2 separate regions of the Homo sapiens genome follow, and region 2 is linked to region 1. The links are contacts of gene promoters, found by promoter capture Hi-C in blood cells and fetal thymus (Javierre and others, 2016). All regions are on one chromosome and are shown on one strand. The core of a region is centred on a gene start or on the middle of the fragment in contact, and the rest is flanking DNA. Distances in the headings are between cores, read along the strand shown. Region 1 holds the start of TMEM147 (transmembrane protein 147). Region 2 holds the start of LOC124904700 (a long non-coding RNA gene).

Evidence for each region. The method cuts DNA at HindIII sites, captures the fragments that hold promoters and counts their contacts. A CHiCAGO score of 5 or more calls a contact.
Region 2: a fragment that was not itself captured here is called in contact with the fragment with the promoter of TMEM147 in region 1 in 1 of 17 cell types (naive CD8 T cells); the score reaches 5.5 in naive CD8 T cells.

What each region holds. Positions count from the first base shown.
Region 1 is chr19:35,540,253-35,546,875 of GRCh38, forward strand. It overlaps TMEM147 (transmembrane protein 147), which reads left to right and starts at 5,374. Exons shown (of 7, transcript NM_032635.4): 1 at 5,374-5,564; 2 at 5,636-5,705; 3 at 6,274-6,333; 4 at 6,420-6,556. The coding sequence starts at 5,488. GAPDHS (glyceraldehyde-3-phosphate dehydrogenase, spermatogenic) reads left to right here. Exons shown (of 11, transcript NM_014364.5): 5 at 2,067-2,157; 6 at 2,238-2,356; 7 at 2,693-2,774; 8 at 3,088-3,239; 9 at 3,413-3,575; 10 at 4,657-4,754; 11 at 4,846-5,067. The coding sequence ends at 4,918. TMEM147-AS1 (TMEM147 antisense RNA 1) reads right to left here and starts at 5,777. Exons shown (of 4, transcript NR_038396.1): 1 at 5,685-5,777; 2 at 2,659-3,021; 3 at 1,499-1,822; 4 at 486-1,332. RefSeq lists enhancers at 1-380, 2,775-3,276, 4,991-5,683 and a silencer at 5,376-5,955. The HindIII fragment of the contact is 5,741 bases long and covers 2,504-6,623 here.
Region 2 is chr19:34,967,420-34,974,138 of GRCh38, forward strand. LOC124904700 (a long non-coding RNA gene) reads right to left here and starts at 6,208. Exons shown (of 2, transcript XR_007067237.1): 1 at 5,765-6,208; 2 at 4,947-5,210. LOC124904699 (a long non-coding RNA gene) reads left to right here. Exons shown (of 2, transcript XR_007067236.1): 2 at 272-501. The HindIII fragment of the contact is 953 bases long and covers 4,734-5,686 here.

The DNA of each region.
Region 1 (6,623 bases), core at 4,124-6,623:
CTGTTGCTCTGGCATTAGCAGGTACAGGCCCTGATAGCCATTCAGAACTTCCTTTGAATGAATGAATGGAATCCTCAAAACAGCCTGGTGGGCAGGAGGCTGGGGCCCATGACAGCCTTGGGGAGGGCCTGGGGTCTTCTGGGGGCACAGTCTTTGCCTCAGGCCAACTCAGCAATTGTTGCAGAGGAATCGCAAGTGTCCCTAATTTGGAAGGCAGGAAATGGGGGGTATCTGAGAAGAGCTCGTTGGGCCAGATGATGGAAAGTGGACTGACAGAGCAGGAGACAGGAAGAGGATAACCATGCATGTGTGATGGCTTTGCAGGGCAGCCCATTCATTCATTCATTCAGGCAGTGGAAACAGGAGTGCAGACCCGAGGTGGGACCAGCCACCTGCACTCCAGCAGGCTCTCCCTCTCACTCCCCTCCCCTCTGCCCTGACAGCAGTAAAAAAATGCAAAAAATGACAGCGGTAGCACTTCCTCATCGGGTTGTGAAGGTTACATGAGTTTAATGCAGGTAAGGCACTTAGAATATGGGCACAGGACAGGTGTTCAGTAAACACGTATAAAATGGCTAACTAAAAAAAAAACACGAGGCCAGGTGCAGAGGCTCATGCCTGTCATCCCAGCACTTTGGGAGGCTGAAGTGGGGATCACCTGAGGTCAGGAGTTTGAGACCAGCCTGGCCAACAGAGCAAACCCCGTCACCACTAAAAATACAAAAAACAACAACAATAAAAAACTAGCCAGGTGTGGTAGCGCATGCCTGTAACCCCAACTACTCGGGAGGCGGAGGCAGGAGAATCGCTTGAACCCGGAAGGTGGAGGTTGCAGTGAGCCAAAATCGTGCCACTGCACTCCAGCCTGAGTGACAGAGTGAGACTCTGTCTCAAAAACAAAACAAAACAAAACAAAGAAAACCCATGAGGCCAGGCACGGTGGCTCACACCTGTAATCCCAGCACTGTGGGAGGTCAAGGATCACTTGAGCCCAGGGGTTCTAAAGCACCCTGGGCAACAAAAGTGAGACCCCATCTCTACAAAAAAATTTAAAAATTAGCTTGGCATGGTGGTGTGCGCCTGTAGTCCCAGCTACTCGGGAGGCCAAGGCAGGAGGATGGCCGGAGCCAGGAAGATCAAGGCTGCAGTGAGCTCTGATTGCACCACTGCACTCCAGCCTGGGCGACAGAGGAAGACCCTGTCTCAAAACAAACAAACCCCACAAACATTGATTGAACCCCCCATTGAGGGGAGCAGGCTCAATGGCAAAGGAAACAGACCGACACTGGCCAAGAATCACAGAAGCAAAGCACCCGGTTACTCATGATAAACCTGGGAAGGAAGAAAGTGGAACAGTTTATTCACTTAATGCTTGTTTGCTAAAGCCAAGTAGAAAACGGCAATACTAGATGTTTAGTGTGCTTCAAATACAAATGTTTGTCAAAATACCAAGTAAAAACATAAATTTATAAAACAGGAAACCAGAAACCTCCCTTACCTTTCCAATGTAAACCATGAGCCACTGCTGCCCCAAGGCTGCCTCAGGCTTCAGGAGTCCTCCAGGAGCTTTTTCTTTAATGCAGTGTCTGTTTTCAGGGACCCTCCTGGCCTTTGGCAGCCAGCTTCCTATTGCAGGAGCTGAGGGTCTAGGAGGGTTCATGGCGAGGTTGTCAGAGCTGGGAAGCAGAAAGCAGCCGGGCAGGCCTCACAGTCACAGAGTCCACGTCCCGGGCAGCATATGGAGAAAGGGTCTGGGCTGGCTGACAGCAGTCAGCATTGGCGCCTCTGAGGAGGTTGAGGGCTGAGTTGGGGAGGTCACCACCTGTACCCAGGCATAACAGGGGTGGTGCAATCAGCAAAGGGAAAGTGGTCTGAAGTGGGGCAGTGGTGAAAAGCTAGGCCAGCGGGGTGGAGCCCATCTGGAACAAGTAGGTGTGTGGGGTAGGGGACGCAGGTGGTTGCAGGTGGGCCGGTACCTGCTCAGCCTGTCAAATGGTGAAAGCCATGGACTATGAAGGTGGGGCTCAAGCAGGGGAGACTGACTCAGCCCTGCCACTTCCCCACAGCAAAGAGCCCAAACAGATCCCCTGGAGGGCTGTCGGGAGCCCCTACGTGGTGGAGTCCACAGGCGTGTACCTCTCCATACAGGCAGCTTCGGTAAGCTGGGGAGAGGTGCCCAGGGCTAGCTGGGGGGATGATGGTGCCAGAAGCCCCTGACACCTGCGCTTCCTCCCCAGGACCACATCTCTGCAGGTGCTCAACGTGTGGTCATCTCCGCGCCCTCACCGGATGCACCAATGTTCGTCATGGGTGTCAATGAAAATGACTATAACCCTGGCTCCATGAACATTGTGAGGTAATGTGGGCAGTGACATCCTGCAATGTGTGGAAGGGAGGGTAGACTCGTCCTCCCCACCCTCAGCCCCACTGGATTCCTGGTCGCTTGGCTTCTGCTTCTCCTTCCCGAAACTATCTGCTAAAAACGCATGACTTCCAGAGGACAAGCTTGGGGAGCCTCCCCAGCTGCACCTCAGTGCCTCCTTCAGTCTGACAGTGTCCCCACAGATCCCTCTCACCCTCATCCTGACGTTTCATAAAACCAAGTCTGCGTGCATACCCCAAGAGGGGTAAGGGTGGAGGGGTGGCTCTGCGACTCACCTCACAGTGTCCGTGCACACCTTGGCTGTTTCAGCAACGCGTCCTGCACCACCAACTGTTTGGCTCCCCTCGCCAAAGTCATCCACGAGCGATTTGGGATCGTGGAAGGGTTGATGGTGAGTTGAGGATGAGGGGCTGGGGCAGGAAGGATGGCAGGGAAACCCAACTTCTTCCCGGGCCTTGCTTACTGTATGGAGTTAAGAGGGAGAGACTGGTTTCGGGAGGAGAGGCCCACCAGTGCAGAAGTCACTTAAAACACTGTGCAACCCTCAGGCAAGGCTGGACCCTGGCCTGCACACATCCCCTCCTGTGGTCTGTGGTGGTGGCCCCACCAGCCTCCACACCTAGGCCACCAACTTAGTCCTGGAAAAAAGAGGCATGGGAGCTTAGGAGCATGAAGGCCTCATCTTGGTCCTTCTCTTCCCCAAGACCACAGTCCATTCCTACACGGCCACCCAGAAGACAGTGGACGGGCCATCAAGGAAGGCCTGGCGAGATGGGCGGGGTGCCCACCAGAACATCATCCCAGCCTCCACTGGGGCTGCGAAAGCTGTGACCAAAGTCATCCCAGAGCTCAAAGGGTATGAGGACAAGAAGCTGCAACCAGGGTGGGGGCATACGCCAGGAGGACTGGACTGGCCCGGCCCTCAGTCCTTAAGAGGAAAGCAGGGGCCTGGCCCAGCCACAGGGAAAGGGGGAATGGAGGGCAACGTCCCTAAGTTCTGACTCCTGTTCCTCATGGGGGATTCTCCAGGAAGCTGACAGGGATGGCGTTCCGGGTACCAACCCCGGATGTGTCTGTCGTGGACCTGACCTGCCGCCTCGCCCAGCCTGCCCCCTACTCAGCCATCAAGGAGGCTGTAAAAGCAGCAGCCAAGGGGCCCATGGCTGGCATCCTTGCCTACACCGAGGATGAGGTAGGGGCTGAGGAGAGGAGACCCTGGGAGGAGCCCTCTGGGAAGGGACATGATTTCCACTTGCCAGGGAGCTGCTCTCAATGTGCCAAGTCAGAAACTGCAGGGCAGGAAGGGAGATCTCCCTGCCTCAGGGCCTTTGCACTTGCTGTTCCTTTAGTCTGGAATGCTTCCCTTGCCAGGTGACCATACAGTCTGTCCTTACTTCCTCCAAGTCTCTGGAGGAACCTCCCTCTTCAGCAAGGCACCCCCTCAAAATATGTTCTTTTTGTGGCCATATTCCTCACCTGAAATTTCATTTCATAGTCACTGTTGGCCCCAGTGGTGTGTGCACTCCAAGAAAACAGGGATTTAGGGGCTGCCTTTTCACTTTTGTGGCTCCAACCTGGCATACAGCAGGTGACTAATACATGCTTAGTGAACAAAAGACAACAGCTCCCATTTTTTTCAATACTTGCTCAGGGCCAGGCCATGGCCAGATGCCTTCTCTGTGAGGAGTGGATGCCATGGTCATGGTGGACCCCTGTACATCCACCTTGGTGCTGTCTCCCTGCATTAACTCCTGCAGGTCCACTTTCCCACAGTCACTGGGATCTTTTGTTTTAATGGAATCACATTGCATCACCCGTTTTCAGGATTGAAAACACTCCTGTGGCCTTTCATGACACTAGGGCTAAAACCCTCAGGTCCTCCCTTCCTGCAGCTCCTTCTACCTCAGACACTGTGCTGAGGGCCCCAGCCGGTCAGATCTTTCTAGTCATCTAGACCCAGGCTCATGGCCACCCCTCAGAGAGGCCCTCCATGCTGGCCCATTCCAAACGCTTGCATTATTCCTAGGAAAGGGATGTACTGGTACAGCATGAGGGTGTTTGTGACCTGTGCCCTTTGGCCAGACCCTGACACAGTGCCTTGGTCATACCCTGCACTTGGTCATACCCTCCAGTCCAGAGACTGGACACAGTAGGGCTACATCAAATATTATAGATGAATGCATGGATGGGCGATAGAGTTAAGAGTCGGGGCCTCAGCTCCTGGAGGTCCTTGCTCTGCCGGACACACTTATCTTTGAAATTCTGACTTCCAGGTCGTCTCTACGGACTTCCTCGGTGATACCCACTCGTCCATCTTCGATGCTAAGGCCGGCATTGCGCTCAATGACAATTTCGTGAAGCTCATTTCATGGTAAGGGGGAAGGAGCTGGAGACTTAGAGGGAGGGGAACTAAGGGGTGGTCGGAAGGAACCCCCTTGAACCTCCCGACCCCTCCTCCACAGGTACGACAACGAATATGGCTACAGTCACCGGGTGGTCGACCTCCTCCGCTACATGTTCAGCCGAGACAAGTGAAACGGGAAGGTCCTTTCTTTCCTTCCCAGGGGCCGGGGCCGGAACATGTGCCTCCCGTTCCAGCATCTGGCTGCCCGGGGGAGGAAGGACACCCGGGGCGGGCGCCCCACGCCGATGGGTCCATGGTGAAATAAAAAACAGTGCTCACGGCTGCGTCCCGTATCTCTGCGCCGGTCAGGGCGGGTTCTGATCCGGGTTTGAGGCCCGCCCCACCCTTACTCGATCGCCTGCGCCCACGGGCGAGGGGTCGCGCTCGACTCCAAGCCGGGTTCCACTTCAGGAGACCGGGACCGCGATGGCAGCGGTAGAGGCCCCGCATGGCCGGAAGTCACTCCCCAAAGCGCTGGGCCGGCAGCGGTGGGACCCAGGGCCGGCCACGGGCTCTCTGACGTCACTGGGCGCGACGCCCCGCGCCGGGACTACTGCTCCCAGAAGGTCGCGCGCGGGCCCCCGCCAGTCAGGTGGGTGCCAGGCCCTGGCCGTGGCGAAAGAGCCGGCGGAGCCGGAGACCCGCTCCCGGAGACGCCGCCTCGCGATCCCCGCGCGGGCGGGACCGGGCGGCCGGCATCATGACCCTGTTTCACTTCGGGAACTGCTTCGCTCTTGCCTACTTCCCCTACTTCATCACCTACAAGTGCAGCGGCCTGTGAGTGCGGGAAGGGCGCGGGGCGGAGAGGGCGCGGGGCCCGGGCCGACCCTCACCTCCCGCTTCTCCAGGTCCGAGTACAACGCCTTCTGGAAATGCGTCCAGGCTGGAGTCACCTACCTCTTTGTCCAACTCTGCAAGGTGAGGGCCACCGGGAAGCCACGTGTTCTGGCCCCCAGGCTCTGCAGACCCAGGGACCCGCCCCCGTTGCCTATCCGCGCCCCCGCCGCCCCACGGTGGGACCGCCCTCGGGACTCCGCACTGGGAGGCGTCAGGATACCTAGAGAGGATGGACTTTAAAGAGGGCACGACCTGAGAAGAGACCTAGAAGCAACTTTTGCGTAGCACTTAGTAAAACTGAGAAAACCTCAGTAGTGTGGTTGGCTAACAGGTTTTTTTTGGTGCGGTTAAGAGTGATCACTGATTCCGTACGTGCTGCTAACACTGCCCAAGGAGCAGCACCTTCAGACCTGACTCAGATGCCCTGTGATCACCCAGAACTCAAACTTCCAGCCCCCTCGGGGACCCGGGGACCTATCCTCTATCTCCCCGATTCCTGTAATTTTGCCACCATCTGGTGGTTCCTCTTCCAGATGGGCCCCCAGAACCTGTCCTGCCCTCTTCCTACCCACGAACTTCCCACAAATCCCACGTGGTTTATCTTGATCCCCTCACCTTGAAGTGACCTCTTTCTGCTTTCTGTTCTCAGATGCTGTTCTTGGCCACTTTCTTTCCCACCTGGGAAGGCGGCATCTATGACTTCATTGGGGTGAGAGGGGCCAGGGAAGGGAAGGGAGTTCAGGAATGGGGCTCCCTGTCCCCCTGTGCTTACTTAAGCCTCAACCTGACCCGCAGGAGTTCATGAAGGCCAGCGTGGATGTGGCAGACCTGATAGGTCTAAACCTTGTCATGTCCCGGAATGCCGGCAAGGGAGAGTACAAGATCATGGTTGCTGCCCTGGGCTGGGCCACTGCTGAGCTTATTATGTCCCGGTGCGTACAGCAGCCTGGAGCCCAGACCCCTGAGAAGGGACACCTGGGTTCCACGGGGGTGCTGGAG
Region 2 (6,719 bases), core at 3,960-6,459, 570 kb before region 1:
AGCTGCATTTTTTTGTTTTTCTAAATTTATAAAATAATATATAATTATTGTATGCAACATGATGTTTTGAAATATAGATACATTGTGGAATTGATAGGGACAGGAGGTAGGGAAATTCTGGGCAGAAGAGGCCAGGTCCATCAAGCTGAAAATCTTGATACCACGGCCCAAAGTGAGAACTTACATCCCTGTTTTCCCACTCAAATGTTGCCTTTTCCAAAACCACCCGTGGCTCACCCTGCCCCCCATCCTATGCCCATAAAAACCCCAGGCTCAGCCGGCAGAGAGAAGAAAAGCAGCTGGACATTGGAGACTATGGTTGGATGTTGGAGAGAAGCAGGCTGACTTCAAAGGGACAGCTTGACAGCGTAGCTTTGGAGAGGATGGCCAGGGATGGCCAAACTTCAGGGGACGATTACCTTCCTGCTCCATCCCCTTTTCAGCTCCTCTTCCTGCTGAGAGCCACTTTCACCGGCAATAAAATCCCCTGCATTTACCATCTTCAATTTGTTTGTGTGACCTCATTCCTCCTGGATGCCAGACAAAAACTTGGGTGCCATGAGTGTGGGTACAAAAGGCTGTCGCACTGACCCTCCACTGAGCTGTTAACACTTAAGCTATGCATGGATGGCAAAGCTAAAAGGGCACTGTAACACTTCGTCAGGGGCTTCAGGGGTCACAGCACCTTCCCCTAGACACTGCCGTGGGGCTAGTATGGAATTTGCTCTTGCCAGCACCCAAAAGCCCTCACCCTGTCTCCTGCACCCACTCACCTGTGCTCCCCTCCCCATGAGGGGTGGAACAACAAGCGAGTGGAGTTCGTCCCTGACAGCGCCCATGTACTCTAGTTCCCATCCAAGAAGGGGTCAGGGAAATATCCTGCTTCAGAATGACTAAATCAAGCTCATTAACATATGCATCACTTCACATTGTTTTGTTTTGAGACAGGGTCTCATTCTCTCACCCAGGCTGGAGTACGGTGGCACTATCGTGGCTCACAGCAGCCTTGACCTCTTGAGCTCAAGCCATCCTCCCACTTCAGCCTCCCGAGAAGTTGAGACTACAGACGTGCACCACAACACCCAGCTAGTTTTTTGTATCTTCTGCAGAGATGGAGTTTCACCATGTTGTCTAGGCTGGTCTCAAACTCCTGGGCTCAAGCACTCCTCCTTGCCTTGGTCTCCCAAAGTGCTGCGATTACTGGTGTGAGCCATGGCACCAGCCTTAGTTATCTTTTTTGTGTTGAGAAGACTTAAAATCTACTCTTTAAGCATTTGTCAAGAATACACCGTAACTACAGTCACCAGGTTGTACAATAGATCTCTTGAACTTATTCCTCCTAGCTACCTGAAATTTTATATCCTTTGACCAACATTGCCCCACTCCCACCACCTGGCAACCTCAGCCTCTGGTAACCAACATTTCACTCTATTTCTATGAGACAACTTTTTTAGGTTCCATATATGAGTGGGATTATGTAGTATTTGTCCTCTGTGCCTGACTTATTTCACTTAATATAATGTCCTCCGGTTCAACCTTGTTGTCCCAATTGACAGGATTTTCTTCTCTTTTATGACCAAATAGTATTCAGTTGTGTATCTCTACCACATTGTACAAATCCGTTTATCTGTTGATGAGCACTTCAGTCGCTTGACTATTGTGAACATTGCTGCAATGAATATGGCAGTGCAGATATCTTTTTGACATACCAATTTCAATTCCTTGTGATGTATACTCAGTAGTGGGATTCCTGGGTCATATGGTAATTTTATTTTTATTTTTATTGATTTATTTCTTTGGGACAGGGTCTTGCTCTAAAGCCCACTCTGGAGTGCAGTGGCATGATCATAGCTCATTGCCATTTTGACTTCCCAGGCTCAAGTGATCCTCCCGCCTCAGCCCCCTGAGTAGGTGGGACCACAGGAATGTGCCACCACACCCAGCTTATTTATTTATTTATTTTTGAGACAGGGTCTGGCTTTGTTACCAAGCTGGAGTGCAGTGGTGCAGTCTTGGCTCACCGCAATCTCCATCTCCCAGATTCAAGCAATTCTACTGCCTCAGCCTCCCAAGTAGCTGGGACTACAGATGTGCGCCACTATACCTGGCTATTTTTTGTATTTTTAGTAGAGACAGGTTTCACCATGTTGACCAGGCTGGTCTCTAACTCCTGACCTCAAGTGATCTGCCTGCCTCAGCCTCCCAAAGTGCTGGCATTACAGGAGTGAGCCACTGCACCCAGCCACTAATTTATTTTTATCTGGAAAAGAAAAGAGGTTCATTTGGCTCAAGGTTCTACAGGCTGTACAGGAAACATGACATCAGCATCAGCCTCTGATGAGGCCTCAGGAAGCTTCCACTCATGATGGCAGGTGAAGGGGACCTGGTGTGTGGAGATCACATGGCAGGAAGCAAGGGAGAACTATTATTACTGTGGGGTCAGCACCAACACATTCATGAGGGATCCGCTCCCGTGAGCAAAACACCTCCCACTAGGCCCCACCTCCGACACTGGGGATCAGTTTGCAACCTGAGATTTGGAGGGGACAAATATCCAAATTATATCAGGTGGACAGTGTGGCTGAGGCTTTCCCTGCTTCAGACGGAATTGGACACAGGCTCTGGGAGAGAAGATACAAAGTGCCGAGACCAGCTCAGTCAGGGAGACCCTAACCCAGCGGCACTAGAGGAATTAAAGACACACACACAGAAATATAGAGGTGTGGAGTGGGAAATCAGGGTTCTCACTGCCTTCAGAGCTGAGAGCCTCGAACAGAGGTTTACCCACGTATTTATTAACAGCAAGCCAGTGATAAGCATTGTTTCTATAGATTATAGATTAACTAAAAGTATTCCTTATGGGAAACAAAGGGATGGCCAAAACAAAGGGATGGGTATGGCTAGTTATCTGCAGCAGGAGCATGTCCTTAAGGCACAAATCGCTCATGCTATTGTTTGTGGTTTAAGAATGCCTTTAAGCGGTTTTCCGCCCCAGGCGGGCCAGGTGTTCCTTGCTCTCATTCCGGCAAACCCACAACCTTTCAACATGGGCGTCATGGCCATCATGAACATGTCACAGTGCTGTAGAGATTTTGTTTATGGCCAGTTTGGGGGCCAGTTTATGGCCAGATTTTGGGGGTCCTGTTCCCAACACAAAGGGGTGAGGAATGAGGTCGAGTGTTCCAACACAGTTTTAGCAAATGCAGGTACAGACACCCAGGGTGGGTGTAACTGAAACGCATGCTTCATGGAGATGCACTCAGCTGAGATGCCTGATGTGTGTGGGGAGGGTGGGTGCAGGTTAGCCTGAGCATGGTGGCAGCGTGGGATTCGGACACAGAAATGATTTGCAGGAGTCAGAGGAGGGTCGGTGTGCTAGTAACCTACTGCTGCACAACAAATTATCCAAAAACGCAGAGGCTTAAAACAACATCCTTTTATTATCTCTTCGTTTCTGTGGGTCTGGAACCCAGGCACGGCTCTGCTGGGTTCCCTGTTTCATGGTCTCTCCCAAGAATGCCATCAAGGTGCCAGCCAGGACAAATATCTCATCTCATGGCTCAACTGGAAAGGGGTCACTTCCAAGTTCATTCACTTCATACAACCTGTCGGACTGAGGGCCTCAGTTCTTCCCCGGCTTTTGGCCTGAAGCTGCTTTCAATTCCTTCCCTCTTGGGCCTTGCAGAACGGAGAGCTTGCTTCATTAAAGCAAGCAAACCAAGAAGGCAGTTGAGTTTGCCATAAGACAGAAGTCACAATCTTTTGTAATCTCATCATGGAAGCCACCTCCCACCACCTTTGCCATATTCTTTGGGTTAGAAGCAAAGTCATAAAGTCGGGCCCACACTCAAGGGAAGAAAATGACACAAGGGCACCCAAACAGGAGGTGGAGGTTGTTGGAGGCCCTCTTAGAAGTCTGCCTAACACCAGTGGGGAGGTCCCGAGAGAAAAATATCTCAAACTACCCTCCCCCCGGGTCTGGACTCTCCTTGAGAACTATTTAAAGAGAGAATCTTTTAAGGGAATTAAGTGGCAAAGAAAAAAAGTTATAAAAATGCTAATACTCCAAAAACTTTCTGGGGAGTTCCTAATGGTTTATAAGCACTGTGCTTAGTTTCTTACGAGACTGCCTTTTAAAAATAGTAATTAATGGGCTGGGCGCGGTGGCTCGCATCTGTAATCCCAGCACTTTGGGAGGCCAAGGCGGGCGTATCACCTGAGGTCAGGAGTTGCAGACCAGCCTGGCCAATATAGTGAAACCCCATCTCTACTAAAAATCCAAAATATTAGCTGGGCGTGGTGGTGGGCACTTGTACTCCCAGCTACTCAGGAGGCTGAGGCAGCAGAATCACTTGAACTCAGGAGGCAGAGATTGCAGCAAGCCACGATCGTGCCACTGCACTCCAGCCTGGGCAACAGAGTGAGACTCCATCTCAACAAAACAAAACAAAAAATAGTAATTAATGGAAAACAGGTAATTCACCTGTAATTTATCAAAACCAAAGCTTCCTCACCCCAACCCCTACACAGGGTCAAATTCAGTGTTTTGTCCTCGGGAAAAACCTGACAGTGTTCTAGTTGTCTTTTGCTGCACCACAATCATCCCAAAGTTTCACAGCTTAGAGCGATGTGGGGGTTTTTTGGTTTGGGGTTTTTTGTTTGTGTGTTTTTTAAGACAGAGTCTCAGTCTATCACCCAGGCTGGAGTGCAGTGGTGCAATCACTGCTCACTGAAGCTTTGACCTCCCGGGTTCAAGCGATTCTCCCGCCTCAGCCTCCCTAGTAGCTAAGACCACAGGCTCATACCAACACACCTGGTTAATTTTTTAATTTTTTGTAGAGACAGGGTTTTTCCATGTTGTCCAGGCTCGTCTCAAACTCCTGGTCCCAAGCATTCATCCCATCCCAGCCTCCCAAAGTGCTGGGATTGCAGGCACGAGCCACTGCTCCAGAATCAAAGCAATGTTTATTCTGCTCACGAATCTACAACTTGGATAGGACTCACTGGGGCTCATGTCTGCTTCACTCAGCATCAGCTGGGCCACTTGAAGACAGGGGACTGGAACCTTCTGAAAGCTCTCTCACTTACAAGTCTGGCAATTGATGCTGGCTCTCAGATGGGGCTGTGACCAGGATACCTACAGGTGGCTTTTCTGTGCATCTGCTTGGGCTTCCTCACAGCATGGAGACTGGGTTCCGAGGATGAGCACCCTGAGAAAGAGAGAGCCAGGCAGAAGTTATCCCCTTTTATGACTTAGCCTTCAAAGTCACCTGGGGTCACTCCTGCCACAGTCTCAGGCCTGCTAGATTGAAGGGATGGGAACATAAATCCCATATCTCCATGAAGGAGATCAAGTCATCGAGGTCATTGTAAGGAGGGCATGTGGCATAGGATATATCCGTGCATTCACCTTTGGAAAATACAATCAGCCACAGAGAGCAAACAACCCCACCACCATCCCACCCCTGAGCTTTCACGGGTGTCAGTGACAACAAGCATCGTAGGATGAAAAGAAGTCAGCAATCATGAAAAAATAAAGCAGCAAGAAGTACAATCCTTTCCACCTCGTCTCCCATGAGAGCAGGAGGTTGGGAATGAATCCATCTCCCTGAACTAGAGAAGAGACGTGCAAGGTCACTGGGCCGAGCCTGTGGGTTTGGGTTTCTCAGCTGGCCTGTTACGATGAAGCTTGTTCTTGTCTATTGCTGCACACCAAATTACCATAAATTTAGCAGCTTTAAACAACACCCGTTTATTATCTCACAGTTTTGTAGGTCAGGAGTCCAAGCAGGCTTGGCTGGGTTCTGCTCCGGTCATTACAAGGCTGAAATCCAGGTGTCCGCCAGAAATTCTGTTAGCCAGGGCTTCTATCATCAGTTCTTCTCTGCAGGGCGCTGCTAGGGAGGTCCTGACCACCAGAGGGCACTAGAACCACAATCCCGGTCCCAGGGAACTTTGCTTGTGCTCCCGCCCCTTTCTGTCAAAATGCTGTCCGGCCACCAGCGGCAGCAGCGTCTGGGAACTTGTTTGAAAAGCAGAACCTCAGGACTTAAAACCAGACCTGCTGAATCAAAATCTGCATTTTGTCAACTCCCCCACCCAGGCAATTGGTGTGCACCCTTGAGGGCCAGGCTGTAACTCAGTGGTTCTCTACCTTGGCTGCGTGTTAGAACCACCAGAGGAAGTGTGTGTGTGTGTGTGTGTGTGTGTGTGTGTGTGTGTGTGTGTGTGTTTGAGATGGAGTCTCCCTCTGTCGCCCAGGCTGTAGTGCAATGGCGCGATCTCTGTTCACTGCAACCTCCGCCTCCCGGGTTCAAGCGATTCTCCCTCCTCAGCCTCCAGAGTAGCTGGGATTACAGGCTCCCACCATTACGCCCGGCTAATTTTTGTATTTTAGTAGAGACGGGGTTACACCATGTTGACCAGGCTGGTCTCGAACTCCTTACCCCAAGTGATCTGCCCAGCTCGGCCTCCCAAAGTGCTGGGATTACAGGTGTGAGCTACCGCGCCTGGCCCAGAGGAACTTTTAAAATCCCTGATGCAAGGGACTACCCCCAGAGATTTTGATTGCATTGGTCTGGGGTGCAGCCTGCTGCCCGGATTGTTAAAAGTTTCCCTGGGGATTTTACTGTGCAGTTAAGGTTGAGAAGGGCTGCAAGCCTGGGTCATTGCACACTGTAAGAACCTTGTGTATGAATGGAACTGTGCTATGGAACAAC